3 separate regions of the Homo sapiens genome follow, and all the other regions are linked to region 2. The links are contacts of gene promoters, found by promoter capture Hi-C in blood cells and fetal thymus (Javierre and others, 2016). All regions are on one chromosome and are shown on one strand. Each heading gives the region's core, a stretch centred on a gene start or on the middle of the fragment in contact. The rest is flanking DNA. Distances are from core to core; before and after follow the strand shown.

What was found. The method cuts DNA at HindIII sites, captures the fragments that hold promoters and counts their contacts. A CHiCAGO score of 5 or more calls a contact.
Region 1: a contact is called between a fragment that was not itself captured here and the fragment with the promoter of SPEF2 in region 2, in 9 of 17 cell types (naive CD4 T cells, naive CD8 T cells, non-activated CD4 T cells and 6 more). The highest score is 9.7, in naive CD4 T cells.
Region 3: a fragment that was not itself captured here is called in contact with the fragment with the promoter of SPEF2 in region 2 in 1 of 17 cell types (M1 macrophages); the score reaches 5.7 in M1 macrophages.

The regions. Positions count from the first base shown.
Region 1 is chr5:35,093,339-35,097,158 of GRCh38, forward strand. The region is part of intron 2 of PRLR (prolactin receptor); the gene reads right to left. Among named protein-coding and RNA genes, the nearest start is that of AGXT2, 47 kb to the left of the region's middle. The HindIII fragment of the contact is 6,019 bases long and covers 1-3,820 here.
Region 2 is chr5:35,615,785-35,619,634 of GRCh38, forward strand. SPEF2 (sperm flagellar 2) reads left to right here and starts at 2,079. Exons shown (of 37, transcript NM_024867.4): 1 at 2,079-2,271. The coding sequence starts at 2,214. RefSeq lists an enhancer at 2,122-2,929. The HindIII fragment of the contact is 5,837 bases long and covers 353-3,850 here.
Region 3 is chr5:35,066,009-35,069,646 of GRCh38, forward strand. PRLR (prolactin receptor) reads right to left here. Exons shown (of 10, transcript NM_000949.7): 8 at 2,771-2,870; 9 at 2,208-2,277; 10 at 1-94. Among named protein-coding and RNA genes, the nearest start is that of AGXT2, 20 kb to the left of the region's middle. The HindIII fragment of the contact is 240 bases long and covers 1,591-1,830 here.

The sequences.
Region 1 (3,820 bases), core at 613-3,112, 520 kb before region 2:
CAATACCCTCTCTTAGACTTCACCTTTATGTTCTGGCCTATGCAGTCCCCAAGCCAATCCTGCCTGCCAGCAATCTCAGCCCTACCATTCTGTGGAACTTGCTCCCAAGACTGGTATCTGGTGATCCCCCTGAGTACAGTCCCCAACCTGTCCTGCTGTATCTGTTGCTGCAACCTTCTACTCAGGTTTTTGACTCAGTTTTCCTAACTCCAGAAATGGACCTACCATTAGGGTCCAGAAATGGACCCTGCCATCCCTGTTAGGCAGGGATTCTGAGGTTCTTTTTAGCTCTTGCAAACTCAGTTCCTGGATAATCAAGCAAGGCCCAATCCAACATTTGAACTTTAGACTATCATACATATGACATGCACAAATTGTAAGTACAGTCATGTGCCACATAATGACATTTCAGTTAATGATGGACCATATATATGATGGTGGTCCCATAAGATTATAATGCTGTATGTTTACTGTTCTTTTTCTATGTTTAGATATATTTAGATACACAAACACTTACCATTCTGTAACAATTGCCTACAGTATTCAGTTCTGTGACAGCTGTATAGGTTTGTAGCCTGGGAGCAATAGGCTATGTCATCTAGCCTAGGTGTGTAGTAGGCTATACAATCTAGGTTTGTATAAGTATACTCTATGATGTTGGTACAACAATGAAATCTCTTGACACATTTCTCAGAACTTAGCCCTATCATGAAGCGACACTTATGACTGTATTCTGCTCAATGAAGTATCACAAAAAGAATATATCTATGTTACCACTCAGGTCAAGAGATTAACCACCAGTAGCACCCCAGAAATCCAACTTGCAACTCCTCCCAATCTCTACCTACTCCTTCCTGATAGAAACCATTCTTCCCACTTCTAACAGTACAGATTAATTTTACCTACCTTTGAACTTTATATAAATAGGATCATACAACATGCATTTCTTGAGTGTGTGTGTGTGTGGCTTCTTTCATTTCACATGGGTGTAGGATTCATCCTTGTTGTTACATGTAGTTTTACATAATTCATTTTCATTTCATCTCATTCATTTTCATTCATGTTATATTGAATGAAATACCATAACTCATTTATTCATTCTACTGTGTTGATGGACATTTGAGTTGTTTCCAGGTTTTGGCAAACTTTGGGTTTTGCTGAGATTGATCAAAACTCGAATGGCAGGGAAGCCCTGTGCATTTCATAATCACTCTGTGCTACCCGCCATATCTCCTGTTAACCTAAATTAAATTTCAAGTGCTTTTTTTGTCCTAAAAAGGCAAAAAGTCTCATTTCTTGCAAACAAATTTTGAATACATTCATCCGTTGTTTTCAGTATTAGGCATTGTGTTAAGGGCTTCCTTCGGGGTCCTTGGCCCACTGGGTTTCCTTACCTGCCTTGTTCTACCTGGGTTAGATGGCCTGAGGCTAACATAACAGGGAGAAAACCTCACATCAGGTACCATTTGATTTCCAGGAGTTGGGCTTTTTTTTTTTTTTTTTTTTTGAGACGGGGTCTTGTTCTGTTGCCCAGGCTGGAGTGCAGTGGCATGATCACCGCTCACTGCAGCCTGGACCTCCCTGGGTCAGGTGATTCTCCCACCTCAGCCTCCTGAGTAGTGGGGACTAGAGGCACGAGCCACCAACACCCAGCTAATTTTTGTATATTCTGCAGTGATGGGGTTTTGCCATGTTGCCCAGGCTGGTCTCAAACTCCTGAGCTCAGGAAATTTACCCGCCTTGGCCTCCCAAAGGTCTGTGATTACAGGCATGAGCCACTGCACATGGCAAGAAGTTGGAGTTTTCTTTCCAGTACAGAATGCCAACACTTAATCTGGAAAGTAAAGGACATAATGTGCTCAGGGCGGGAAGAGGAACAGCAGGGATTAGATATTACATACCAGGCTAAAGATTAAGACTGTTATACAAGCTCTGCCCAATGTCAACAGTCAATGATTGTGAATAAATGAAGCCCAAAAGGTGAAGAAAACAGAAAAAGATTCTAAGACATGGGACAAAACTCTGCATATAGGAAGACTGGTCCCACGCTGGTATTTCAAACACTAGACTTACAGCCAGCATAGTTTTCAGTATTTGACAGGGGAATCTAAAGAAGTTTTAAGGAGAACATGGCAGCCGCTCTTTCAGGAAGACATTGAAAACTGAGGATATAGTGCCAAGAGAACCCTGGCCTGCAGGTGGGGAGATGAAAGTTCCAGCTGTTCTTGCTCTGCCAATAATTAGCTTCACACAAACATGTGCCCACAATGAATGTTTATCTGCCCATAGTCCAGGCAGCATATCTATGCATTTGTCTGTGAAAGTTCACAAGAGGACACTTGCTCGTGTGGTCATTCATTATTATTTTTTTATCATCACCATTATCCAGTTTACATTTTGCTGTTTCTTGAGCAGGTTTCCATCTTGTACCCTGTTTTGAGGTACCCATTGGGGAAAACATCCAGAACTTTCCATAGTGAATTACTTTTATATAAAACGTTTATCACCTGGCAGTTTAGTCAGGTGAACGTAATTAGAAGTAGTTTAGAGGCTGCTGTAAAGTGTTCACCTCTGATTCCAGATATTCCCCTGCCCCTCTCCTAGAAATCCCAAAGGTTCCACTGAGGAAAGAACTTCCTGAAGACTCTGCACTCTGTGAAGATCATCAAGAGGAGCGCATGTGCTGTGCATGGTGATGGCTGCATTTGGTGAGAGGTAGATGATCAGCAGAGATAGGATTTGTCTAAACGAGAGCTGACTTAGACCTTGGGCCACTCAGGAATACCTGTGAAGAACCATCTCCTGGCTTCTAACCTAGTCAGGGCAAATTACTCCAATACGATATATGTGCCTTTGCACTGGAGTCACTTTAATAACACAGAACACCGATGCTTCCCCATGGCTGGAAGTATTGCTTCCAAATCTAATCACATTAACTCCACTCACTCACTACAGCTTCCTCATCCTAGCAACATCTTTTATCCCAAGGAGGCTTGTTTTCGAGCAGTCTTTTTGGCTTAAAGGCAAGAATAGGAATTGGATGAGTTTCAATTTCCCCCAGCCAGTGCACATGTAGGACAGATGGTGGAAAACCCACGTTGGCCTGATTTTCAGAGGAACTAGTCCCTCATGAGATCATCAATCAGTTACTAACAATCAAAAAACACCCATAAATCATACATTATGTTTTGCAGTTTACAGAGCTGTTCTATAGACATCAGTGGTTTCTAATCCAGGATTCCCATTACAGTCCAAGGAGTGTCTTAAAATTTCTTTTCTTTACTTTCTTTTTTTTTTTTTGAGACAGAATCTTGTTCTGACACCCAGGCAGGAGTGCAGTGACACGATTTCAGCTCACTGCAGCCTCTGCCTCCCAGGTTCAAGTGATTCCCCTGCCTTAGTCACCAGAGTAGCTGAGATTACAGATCTGCACCATCACGCCTGGCTAATTTTTGTATTTTCAGTAGAGACGGGCTTTACCATGTTGGCCAGGCTGGTCTTGAACTCCTGGTCTCAAGTGATCTGCCCACCTCAACCTCCCAAAGTGCTGGGATTACAGGCGTGAGCCACTGTGCCCGGCCTTAAAATTTTTCATTTCTTTGTTTTGTCCCTGGACATTCTCACTAATTGGCTCAGAATTGAGCCCACTTGGAAGGACATGGGCATTTTAAAAAAAACCTTTCTAGATGATTCTAAATTAAAGCTGGGGTTGAAAACCACTGACTTACATGCTATCACCTGACACGTAAATTCTCTGAGTCCTCTAAGGCAGCCTTCCTCCTGATAACAGCTGACTCAGCATGCTCCCCATATAACACCT
Region 2 (3,850 bases), core at 829-3,328:
AACAGAACAGAGAACCCAGAAATAAATCCACATATTTATAGCCAACTGATTTTCAACAGAGGCACCAAGAACTATGTTGAAAGAACCCTCTCTTCAATAAATGGTGCTGGATAAGTTGGCTATCCATATGCAGAAGAGTAGAGCTGAACAGTATTTCTCACCACATACACAAATATCAACTCAAGATGGATTAAAGACTTAAATGTTAGACCTAAACCTATAAAACTACTAGAAGAAAACATAGGGAAAACACTTCAGGACATTGGCCTAGGCAAAAATGTTATGAATAAGACCTCAAAAGCACAGACAACTAAAACAAAAATAGACAACTGGGGGCTATATTAAACTAAAAAGCTTCTGTACAATACATGAAACAATCAACGGAGTGAAGAGACAACCCATTGAATGGAAGAAAATATTTGCAAACTATTAATCTGACAAGGGACTCATATCCACAACATACAAGAAACTCAAACAACTCAACACTAAAAAAACAAACAATCCCACTAAAAAGTGTGCAAAGGACACGGATAGACATTTCTCAAAAGAAGAGGTACAAATGGCCAACAGGTATATGAAAAAATTCATCATCTCTAATTATCAAATGCATATCAAAACCACAATAAAATACCATCTTACCCCAGTTAGAATGGTTATTATTAAAAAGACAAAAAACAACAGATGCTGGAGAAGATGTGGAGAAAAGGGAACTCATACTGTTGGTGGGGATGTAAATTAGTATGACCACTATGGAAGGCAGTATGGAGGTTTCTCAAAAAACTAAAAACAGAACTGCCATAAAATCCAGCAGTTCCACTACAGTGTATCTATCCAAAGGAAAAGAAGTCAGTATATCAAAGGGATACCTGCACTCACATGTTTATCACAGAACTATTCAAAATAGCCAAGATATGGAATAAATCTAAGTGTCCATCAGCGAACAAATGGAAAAAGAAAGAATGGTATATATACATAACGGAATACCATTTGTCCATGGAAAAGAATGAAAACAGGTCATTTGCAGCAACATGGATGAACTGGAGGCCATTATGTTCAATGAAATAGGCCAGGCAACAGAAAGACAAATACTGCATGTTTTACTCATATGTGGTAGCTAAAAAAGTTGATCCCCTGGAGATAGAGAACAAAATTATGAGTACCAGAGACTGGAAAGGATGTGAGGGTGGGAAGGGGAAATGAAGAGAGGTTGGTGAATGGGTACAAACTTATAGTTAGATGGAAGAAATAGGGTCTAATGTTAGCTAGCAACTGGGGTGACTATAGTTAGCAATGATACATTGTATATTTCAAAATAGCTAGAAGAGAAGATTTGAAATGTTACCAACGTATATAAATGATAAATACTCAAGGTGATGGATACCCCAAATACCCTTCTTCTTTTTCTTCCTCTTCTTTTTTCTTCTTCTTCCTCTTCTTTGATCTCTCCTTGTTCTCCTCCTTCTCCTTGTTCTCCTTCTTCTCCTTCTCTTTCTTCTTTTCCTCCTGTTCTTCCTCTTCTCCTCCTCCTCTTCCTCTCCCTCTCCTTCTCCTTCTTGTTATTCTTTCTTCTTTCTTCTTCTTTTTTGAGACAGAGTCTCATTTTGTTGCCCAGGCTGGAGTGCAGTGGCTCGATCTCGGTTCACTGTAAACTCCGCCTCCTGGGTTGATCCTTCCACGTCAGCATCCTGAGCTGGTGGGACCACAGGCGCACGCCACCACGGCCGCCTAATTTCTTACAGAAAAAAAAACGGTTTCTGCTACCTTGCCCAGGCTGGTCTTGAACTCCCAGGCTCAGTCGAGCGCCACCCCCTCCACAAAGTGGTAGGATTATTTGCGTGAGCCACGGAGCCCTGCGGAGACTCTGGTTTTACTTTCTGCTCACCTAAGAAGCTCCTGCTGTGTCCCTAAGTGTTCCCGCCTCGCCTCTCCCCACACCCACTGCTCCCTAACTTCTCTCACAGGCCCCCAACGGCTTCCTCCTGCGCTGGCGCACGCTCAGGTCTTACCCGCCAGCAGGTGGCGAAACACGATTTTCTGTCCTCTGCGGCTGAGCCCTAGCGTCCCCTCTTCTCTAAGGCCTTTCGCCTAGTTCCAGCCTGGATACGCTTCCATAGCAAAGGGTTGCCCTTGGCTACAGGAGGACGCGGGCTGGCAGGCTTGGTTCCTGGCGAGTTTCTAAGCCCCCGCCTGCGGTCTGAGGCACCGGCTGAACCATGTCGGAGATCCTGTGCCAGTGGCTCAACAAGGAGTTGAAGGTGTCCCGGACCGTGAGTGAGTGACCACGGCCAGGGGCGAGCGTCTGAGGGGCTAGCGGGGCGCAGAGCCTGCAGCGCAGCGCAGCGCACTCAGGGAAGGTGGCGGGCAGGGCGCGAGCTGCACAGGTGGGGCACCTGCGTAGCCGGCAGCATCCCACAGTGAGCAACTCGGCTCGGCGGTGCCCCAGGTCCGTCCCGCCACCTCCCTACAGCTCACCCCAGCCAGGGCAAGGCCTTGTCACGTCCCCACTCTGCCGCTCTCGAGTTACCCTTGTCACGGTGGGCCCAACCCGCAGGCATTCTGACTTTGTGATGTGGTTCTAGGCAATCAGAGGGTTTAGGAAGGTCTCCTTTGCTTCTGTGGAGAGGGAACTTTGCTGGACTTTGTAGTCTGACCCCAACGATGCCTCCTTCACATCACCAGAAGCAGAAGCATGGTGTGGTGGCTAGTCGATGAAATATGAAGCCACTGGACAAGTTACAATACCTTCTCTGAATGTGTTTCCTTCTCTATAAAATGGACCTAATAATGCTTTCCATACTTAACTGACCAGCAGGGGAGGGTGGGTGAAAAATAAGTTAATGTAGAATATGTTAACATTTACAAATTTTAGTAAATTTTAAGCCCCAAATCACAAACTAGCTATTTCTGGTCACTATTGGCTCTTGCCCAAAGCTGACCTTATTCACCAACCTAATTTTATCCTAACCATGCAGTTGCCACCCAAAGTTTCCAAGTCTGACAACCACAGAGACAATTTTACATGCTGGCAGCTTCCTTGACTGCCCTGTAATTCTTCAGGAGTTCATTTTTCAGTTGGTTTTGTTTGTCTTTTTTTCTTTTTTTGCTTAAGGGAAGAGGTTTTCAGGGCAAGTCATTTCAGTCCATTTTCCCAGAAGAACTTGCTTAACACCAGCTTGCTACCAGAGAGGCAGTGGTGCCAGTTCAACCTTAGCTTATCTACAGAAGTTGCTAGATCGGTAGTGTTTCTGTGGGTGCAAAGTAGTTATTAATACTCTCAGCATGAGGATCTTTAGCACGGAGCATCTCCTGTTGCATTTCTTGAGGCATAAACCTCAGACTCTTTCTTTGTCAAATAACCATCTACACACTCCCTGTGAACTGCAATAAATTCTTTCCTGGTATTCTACGATTATCCCATTGTGTCTCCAACTGTTTATTTGCTAAAATATGATGGACTGAGGACAATATTTAGCATTTATTGTTTCTTATTCCTGTCTCACCATAGGAGCCAAAATAAAATATCATGCCCTTAAGTTGTACTCTTCTAAAAGAAAAGCAGTTACATATTGCTTAGTTTAATTTAGTTCATTTATTTTATTAGTAAAAACCACACCCGGGCCGGGTGCGGTGGCTCACGCCTGTAATGCCAGCCCTTTGGGAGGCCGAGGTGGGCAGATCATGAGGTCAGGAGTTCGAGACCAGCCTGGCCAACATAGTGAAATCCTGTCTCTACTAAAAATACATTAGCCGGACGTCGTGGCGGGTGCCTGTAGTCCCAGCTACTTGGGAGGCTGAGGCAGGAGAATCGCTTGAACCCAGGAGGCAGAGATTGCAGTGAGCCGAGATCGCG
Region 3 (3,638 bases), core at 461-2,960, 550 kb before region 2:
CTTCTAAATACTCCACCAGCAAGTCCTCATAGTCAGAAGTGGGAGGAAAGTCTTGGCATCCCAAGGCACTCAGTAGTTCTTCAGACTTGCCCTTCTATTAAAACACAGACACAAGAAGAGATGGCTGTTAGCTTCATAACATTCCAAATCAGCATCCCTGCTAAGTGGTGCTGTTCATTGCCACAAGCAGGTGGGAAGATCTCAAACTTCAGACATTTGTGTGCCAGGCCATCTAGAATCACCTTCTGGATACTATTCAGCAGATTTTTTTTTTTAAAGTCAACTCAGGATATTTAACGTAGTCTCTCTCCAAGCAATAATAATCATGAGTTTAATGGGCAAGTAGTATATACACATACAATAATAAACAGATAACTATAAAATGAAGGTTTGTGAAACTTCTAAACCCACAGTGCTTATGCATGCATCTGACACTGCGGCCCACTGGCAGAGGTGTGGTTGCTGGCCTGCTAACTTCCTCTATCACTTTCTAGAGTCTGGCAATAGTAAGTGGATTCTTGTCTTTTCCTTCTGTGGTTCATCTTCCTTCTCTCCTTCCTCTTCTTATTTCCCCTTCCCTTCTCCTCCCTCTTCCTAATCTACTGTTTTCTTCTACTCTACTTCCTCTCCCTCCTTCTCTTCTCCCCCTTCATCACCCTATTCCATATTTCCGCCCTTCCTATTATTCTCCCTGCTTCTATCCTTCCTTTCCCCCTCCTATTTCCTCCTGCCTCCTCCTCTCACTCTTGCCTCTTTTTTTTTTTTTTTTTTTTGAGACGGAGTCTCGCTCTGTTGCCCAGGCTGGAGTGCAGTGGCATGATCTCGGATCACTGCAAGCTCCGCCTCCCGGGTTCACGCCATTCTCCTGCCTCAGCCTCCCGAGTAGCTGGGACAACAGGCGCCCACCACCACGCCTGGCTAATTTTTTACATTTTTAGTAGAGACAGGGTTTCACCATGTTAGCCAGGATGGTCTTGATCTCCTGACCTCGTGATCTGCCCGCCTCTGCCTTCCAAAGTGCTGGGATTACAGGCGTGAGCCACCGCGCCCGGCCTCTTTTTTCTTATCCTCTGACTTGGGTCAGGTACTGACCTAGGTCTTGGCTTTATCACTTATTATAGGGTATGTGACTTTGGACAAGCTGCTCTCTGAACTTCAGCTTCTCCATTTTTAAAAGGTAGAAAATAATATTAATACTACCCATCTGGGAGGGTTCTTTTGAGGATTAGAGGTAATATCATTAAGAATACTAACACATATTTTTGAGACAAAAGTAGCTATTTTATCGTTAAGTCTCTGTGGCTAGCAGGTTAAATTGTGAGCTGGACAGTAACTAGTTTAGTTTGCTGAGACATTCATGCTGGTTCTATCAGGCCAATGCTACACTGGATAGTGGAGGAAGAGCACTGGGTCAGGAGCTGGGACTCCTGGGCTCTAGTCCCTGCTTCGATATTTGCAACCAAAGTGAACACAGACAAGCCAGATTATCCAGGACTCAATTCTTCTATTCTTACACTGTCAGACCCAGAGCAGCTGGGTCAAGTATTTGCCTTAATGTACAGCTAGTTGCTTTTATATATGTCAGTGTTAAGCTTAAAAGCCAAACTGAAACTATTTATTTCAATTTGGAGAAAAATTTAAAACTGTTCTAACCTCTCTTTTCATTCAAAACACTCATTATTTAATTCCCTCTTGAATCAGCCCAAATGGGTCCTGGCAAACAGATGGCCCCACAGTACTGATCTGGTCTCAGCTGAGTGCCCAAAGTGAGAGATAATGGCAATGGGATATTCTGTTACTATGGCTTTATGTAAAGAACATTCAAGTAGAAGCTTTTACCAATGTATGATTGAGGGGGTGGTGGTGGGTCCCTGTTTTGCATTAATCAAAATATTCACTCTCTTTCTAAATTGATTATTTGTATAAAATGTTTATCTCTATGCTTATGAGTAGATCTGATAAATCAATAAATGTGTTTCCATGTTTTCTTGGCTTTCTCTCCTTGCCCTCTGACATTTAGTGTGTGAAAGTAAGTACCCTCATCCTTCACACAACTTTCTGTTAACACACATGCTGACCAGGAGAGACAGTCCAAAAAGGCTGGCTGAAACTACCAGGCTGAACTGACGGGGACTGTGTGTGAGTGTGTAGAGTTAATTACTACAGAGCAGTGAGTCACACTCCATTTTTTTGCCTCCTGTACTTACCTCCAACAGATGAGCATCAAATCCTTTTATTTTTGGCCCAGGAACTGGCGGAAAGATGCAGGTCACCATGCTATAAAATAATTCATGAGATTGGCTAAATGACTCATTTCTGACTTTGTAATTTTTGAAAGGTTAGTATAATAGCCACTATAGGGACTGTGATAGAGATAGGACTTGGTTTGGCAGCTCCATGAAACAATCAATGATGAAAATAAAATTACAGAGGCCTATATTAAAATTAACTTTAGCTAATTAAGGAGGCTGATTTTGAAGTTAGTGGATTATCTGGACTATTTGCTTCTCTTGATTTTAGCTACTCTTGCCAGATTTTTACTGTTTCACAACTAGGAATCTCTGTTTCATAGAAAGAACATCAGCCTGAAACGAGTCAATTTTTCTACTTTTTATAGCACTGATAAAAGATTTTTTTTATGGGCAAACACACTACATCTAATGGCTAAAATGAGGATTATCTACAGGTTTCCATCATCTTTGTATTTTTTTTTTTGTCATTATCCTTGACTATCATGATTGGGAGGAAAAGTTGAGAGACAGTGAAGTACCTATAGCCCTTCAAAGCCACTGCCCAGACAATAATCAAACAGATGACAGCAGAAAGGACAGCCACAGAGATCCACACGGTTGTATCATTCATGGTGAAGTCTAAAAAACAAACAGCCAGAAAGCTTTGATCACGTACAGCATCATTAAAAACAAACCAACCTAATGAATGAAACTCTTAAACCCAAGAGTGTTTTCCTCCATTCATATATTTTTTTGATTTGAACAGCAATCCAAAGTATCATCAATGACAGGGCTATTCTCTTTTAAATATTATTAATATGTTAATATGTTGCGTATATTTTATAGTACTCTAAAAATTTAAAAATCCTTTCATTATTCTTTTTAATTGATCCTTAAAGAGGAAATCCAAGGTCACATGGTCGTTTGCAGTAATAATAATAAAAGCTAACATTAAGTTCTTACTAAAAGCCATCAATGGTGTTAAACTCTTTGCCTACATTGCTTTGTTATAAAAGATAAGAAAACTGGGAATCAAAGAAAGATTTACCAATGGCCACATAACTATAGTGTTGCAGGCTGGGATTTGAACTCAGGCTTTCTGCCTCTAGACCCTGTGCTTTTGTTAAGCAAGAGTCAGGAGTGGACTAGATGCCTGCCTGATTTGCAGTTCAGTGCCCTTTCCAGCATGCCAAGCCAATGAAAGCCCGATACTTTGGTCAGGCAAGTTGTTAGAAAAGCTAGACTTTCCTGTGTGGTTTTGGAAAAGACTCCTAACTTTGCTGAGGTTTGGTTTCTTCACTTTTAATTTTTAATGATAATCATATTCTCTGAATACCTGGGAGGGTTGGGAGGACCAAATAAGGTACAGGCTTTGTAAGCTGTAAAGCATTTTAAAAATGCAAGATG